2 separate regions of the Homo sapiens genome follow, and region 2 is linked to region 1. The links are contacts of gene promoters, found by promoter capture Hi-C in blood cells and fetal thymus (Javierre and others, 2016). All regions are on one chromosome and are shown on one strand. Each heading gives the region's core, a stretch centred on a gene start or on the middle of the fragment in contact. The rest is flanking DNA. Distances are from core to core; before and after follow the strand shown.

Evidence for each region. Contacts are between HindIII fragments. The CHiCAGO score rates a contact against its expected background, and 5 or more counts as called.
Region 2: a fragment that was not itself captured here is called in contact with the fragment with the promoter of GSR in region 1 in 2 of 17 cell types (activated CD4 T cells and total CD4 T cells); the score reaches 5.8 in activated CD4 T cells.

What each region holds. Positions count from the first base shown.
Region 1 is chr8:30,726,587-30,729,104 of GRCh38, reverse strand. It overlaps GSR (glutathione-disulfide reductase), which reads left to right and starts at 1,259. Exons shown (of 13, transcript NM_000637.5): 1 at 1,259-1,575. The coding sequence starts at 1,270. RefSeq lists silencers at 999-1,088, 1,159-1,598 and an enhancer at 1,674-2,361. The HindIII fragment of the contact is 11,618 bases long and covers 1-2,518 here.
Region 2 is chr8:28,095,629-28,098,146 of GRCh38, reverse strand. It overlaps ELP3 (elongator acetyltransferase complex subunit 3), which reads right to left. Exons shown (of 15, transcript NM_018091.6): 2 at 829-928. Among named protein-coding and RNA genes, the nearest start is that of ELP3, 3.7 kb to the right of the region's middle. The HindIII fragment of the contact is 911 bases long and covers 805-1,715 here.

The sequences.
Region 1 (2,518 bases), core at 10-2,509:
GCTTCCCAGTCAGGGAACCAAGAAATATAGCAGGATGAGTCACAGACAAAACTCCTCAGACACCAGATTAAAGCAGGAAGAGGTTTTTTATTCGGCCAGGAGCGTTGGCAGACTCGCGTCTTGAGAGCCGAGCTCTCCGAAAAAGAAATTCCTAGCCCTTTTAAGGGCTTACAACTCTAAGGGGTCTACGTGAAAAAATCATAATAGATCAAGTAAGCGTGGGAAACGTGACTGGGGGCTATATACATCAGCTAACAGAACAAAAAGTTTTACAGTGCTTTCTCATACAATGTCTGGAATTTACAGATAACACCAATAGTTTTGGTCAGGGGTTAATAATATTATTATTATCTTAGCCACCAGGGCCAGGTGGTGGTGCCAAGGTCGTCTAGCTATTTATCTTACTTCTGTTTCTTTCCAACTTTTTGCTTTCTCCCTTTTCTCCTGTCTTATAAACTAGGGAAAAGGGGAGGTTGGGGAGAAACTGAGAAGGACAACAGGAGAAGTGGTGACCTCATACCATAATCCTAGCATTTTGGGAGGCCGAGGTGAGAGAATCGCTTGAGGCCAAGAGTTCCCTACCAGTCCTGGTAACATAGTGAGACCCTATTTCTAAAAAAAAAATAAAAATAATAAAAAAAATAAAAAAAAAAATTAAATAAATAAATAAATAAATTAGCTGGGCGCTGTGGCGGGCACCTGTAGTTCCCAGCTACCGGGAAGGCTGAGGAGGGAGGATCGCTGCTTGAGCACAGTAGGTGGAGGCTGCAGTGAGCAGAGATCGCATCACTGCACCCCTGCCTGGGGGAGAGTGAGACCCAGTCTCAAAGAAAAAGCAAGAACAAACAAAAGTGGTCTCTGGAACAAACCTGGACAAACAACCCTTCGAATAGAGGCAAATTTCTCTTCCTGGAGAAGCCGTGCCACTGGCAACTCCCCAGGGGGCCAGCTCGGGAAAAGCCAGCTGAAACGAGAGGACGTTCACCGTTCCTCGCCTCGATCCACCGGACTTCAGAAGGCTACACGCGGCAGGCGCCGCTCGGGATCCAGGGGCCGGGGTGAGAACGGAGGCGGAGAAACCCCTCAGGCTCCGCCACCGGGGCGGGGAACTGGGAGGCGGCCCCGCCTCTGGGCATCCTCCTGGGTCTTGCCTAGCGGCGGGCGCATGCTTAGTCACCGTGAGGCTGCGCTTGCCCGGGGCCCGCGCCCCCCTACCCCGGGGACCGCCCCCGGGCCGCCCGCCCCACTTGGCGCGCCACTTCCGCGTGCATGGCCCTGCTGCCCCGAGCCCTGAGCGCCGGCGCGGGACCGAGCTGGCGGCGGGCGGCGCGCGCCTTCCGAGGCTTCCTGCTGCTTCTGCCCGAGCCCGCGGCCCTCACGCGCGCCCTCTCCCGTGCCATGGCCTGCAGGCAGGAGCCGCAGCCGCAGGGCCCGCCGCCCGCTGCTGGCGCCGTGGCCTCCTATGACTACCTGGTGATCGGGGGCGGCTCGGGCGGGCTGGCCAGCGCGCGCAGGGCGGCCGAGCTGGGTGCCAGGGCCGCCGTGGTGGAGAGCCACAAGCTGGGTGGCACTTGCGTGAGTACCGCCGGTTTGTTCGGGCGGGGGGCGCCTCTTTGTCTCGGTCTTTCGGGGGACAGCCTGTGCTCGTTCCTATGGCGATCCTGTCCCCCGGCGCTGGGCTTTCCTCTTTTCCACCCCCGCAACTCCCCATTCCGAAGCCAGGAACCCAGCAGGTGGAGGAGAGAGAGGCGTCCGGGGGCTTCTCTGCGGCCCGCAAAGCCGAGCCAGCGTCTGCTTCCGCACGGATGCGATATTGACCAGGGCCGGGGCGGGTTAGATTAACCTTCCTCCATCCTCACTTGTCCAAGTGGGAGAGGATTGGATTCTGTTCTTGACCGCGTGAAACACAAAACTGCATCTGGGAACATTGCTGGTGGCCTGTGTGTAGGGACGAGGGTGACGGTGCCATAGATCCTGGTTCTTGAAAAATGTAGATCCTGGTTCTCCCGTTTCAAGGGCAGAATGATTTATAGCGGTTGTTGTCAACCTTGGCTACACATTCGAATCACCTGAGGGTGCCTGGATTCCCGACTTAATTGGTCTGAGGTGCACTTGGGCTTTGGGATGTTTCCCGACTTAATTGGTCTGAAGTGCAGCCTGGGCTTTGGGATTTTCGGGTGATCTGAATTGCAGCCAAGGCGACCTTGAGTAGGTGAGTTCTCAGAGCTTTTGTTTTGTCTTGGTTTTATGTGGATTGCAAAACTAAAAACAGAGGGATGTAAATCCTGAGATTTACAAAATTCATAATTTTTGAAAATAAGGGTTTTTGTTTGTGTTTGTTTTTTGAGACAGGGTCTTGCCCTGTCACCTAGGCTAGAGTGCAGTGGCCATCATAGCTCACTGCAGCCTCGAACTCCCGGGCTCAAGGGATCCTCTCACCTTGGCCTCCTGAGTAGCTGGAACTACAGGGGGCTAATCACCACGCCTAGTTAATTATTATTATTTTTTGTAGAGATGG
Region 2 (2,518 bases), core at 11-2,510, 2.6 Mb after region 1:
AATGATTATGGAGAGGAAGTGGATGAATGTGTCAAAGAGGTTCTACAGCAGGGGAGGGTTGGATTAGATCAGGGGCCCCAAAGGGAGGGTTTTCCTGACAGAAAGCTGCTGCTTCAGCTGAGACAGTAGGGAAGGAAAGTAGGATGTGCAGCGATGCAGCACAGAAGAACATGGGCTCTGGAGACGGCTGACCTAATTCCAAATCCCAGCTCTGCCAATTACTAGTTACTTACCCCTGGACAAATTATTTAACTGCTCTCTGACTCAGATTACCCACCTGTCAAGTGTGGCTGGTATCAGTACCTATCTCACAGAATTTTGAGGGGATTAACTGAGCTAATACATACAATGCATTAGCAACAGTGTCTGGAATACAGTAAGTGCCCAATAAATGTTAGAAGCTATTAGTATTCTTAAGCTGAGACAATTTTGCCATCAAGAAATGAATGACGGCCGGGTGCGGTGACTCACGCCTGTAATCCCAGCACTTTGGGAGGCCGAGGTGGGCAGATCACGAGGTCAGGAGATCGAGACCGTCCTGGCTAACACGGTGAAACCCCGTCTCTACTAAAAATACAAAAAATTAGCCAGGCGTGGTGGCGGGCGCCTGTAGTCCCAGCTACTCAGGAGGCTGAGGCAGGAGAATGGCGTTAACCCCAGAGGCGGAACTTGCAAAAAAAAAAAAAGAAATGAATGACAAGGCAAGGCAGAAAGCTAAAATTCTCAACTAAAATAAAACTTGAGCTGGAAAACAAGTAGTACTAGATAATTTCATAAAAGAGATCTGCTACCTAAGAACAAGCTTGCTCTCTCTTTATATCCACTTACTTATTTAGATCGATGTCTTTCCCCTGCTCGTGGGCTTCAATCAGTTGTTTAATAACATCTCCTATAGTCAGCATCATCAGCTCAGCAGGGCTGAGATCTCCTGGAAAGTTAATATTCAACAATGTCAAAAATCGTATCATTCAATCAAGATTTTAAAATCTGATTTAGTAGCAGTTTTCCATCCGAAACCATACAAATATGCCAAATGAATAGCTCAAGTTCAGAAGATGCTAAATCTCTACTGTTTACAATTTGATCATATCTTTTGTATCTTTAAAACAAACGTGGCTTTACATATATATGGGAAAAGCTCCCTTTAGAAGCACATACTCTATGAGATTATTAAAAATAAATACAGGAAAGGATACAGGAGTAGAAACAATGTGAGGAGAAAGAACTTAATCACACAGGAAAGGACCAAAGTAATTCTCTTCCCTTTATCTCCAGAGGTGTAATTACTAATATGTGCATAATACTTTAGAGTTCATAAAGAACATTTAGATGCATGAATTCAGGTAATTCTCAGAACAGAGGTAGACAGAACAAGAATATGTGCCTGTTACATGAAGATGCTATCAAGGAGTAAAGTTGAAACTCAAACCCAGGTATCTGCCTAAGAATCTTAATGCATTTCTAAAATATTGTCTGTCCACCATCATGAACTTCTGGCAACTGGGGCTCTCGGTCTCATCCAAAGGCAACAGCAGAAGCTGACAGGTTCTTGTATGACGCCATCCACTCAAGCACAGTTCAAGGATTGGTTCAAGGATGGGCATATCTCTAAGCCAGGCCAATCTGAGCTCTTTTCTTCAAGGTAAAAAATGCCAGTCTTTTTCCAGGGACAAAAGCTGTGGGATATCAGCTTGGAAGCTGTCAGCAAGCAAGCTTCTCACCTGTAGAGCAGTGGTTCCCAACCTTTTTGATAAAAGGAACTGGTTTTATGGAAGATGATTTTTCCACAGACCAGGGGAGCAGGGTGGTTTTAGGATGATTCAAGTGCATTACATTTATTGTGCACTTTATTTTTATTACTGCATTGTTATATGTAATGAAATAATTATACAATTCACCATAACGAATTCTGTTCCCATAGAATCAGTGGGAACCCTGAGCTTGTTTTCCTGCAACTAGACACTCCCATCTGGGGGTGATGGGAGACAGTGACAGATCATCAGGCATTAGATTCTCATAAGGAGCACACAACCTAGACCCACCACATGCACGGTTCACAACAGGGTTCAGACTCCTTTGAGAATCTAATGCCACTGCTGATGTGACAGGAGGCAGAGCTTAGGCAGTAACATGAGTGATGGGAAGTGGCTGCAAATACTGATGAAGCTTCACTTGCTCGCCTGCTGCTCACCTTCTTCTGTCTGGCTCAGCTCCTAACAGGCCATGAACCGGTACTGGTCCGTGGCCCAGGGGGCTGAGGACTCACACTGCAGAGAAAGCTAAAACATAATGAAAGCGTGGATGGAAGGCCCTGGCAATTATGGAGCCCACACATTTACTTTATCTCATTTGAACCCTTACAGTAACACGGAGGGTAGGTACTGTTATCCCATTTTATAGATGTGAAAAATGAGGCTAAGGCAAGTTAACAAGCTATCGTAAACAGCAGAGCCAAGACTCAAATCCAGCTCTTTTCACCACAACTTCCATGCTTTTTTCACTGTAACACACTGCATCT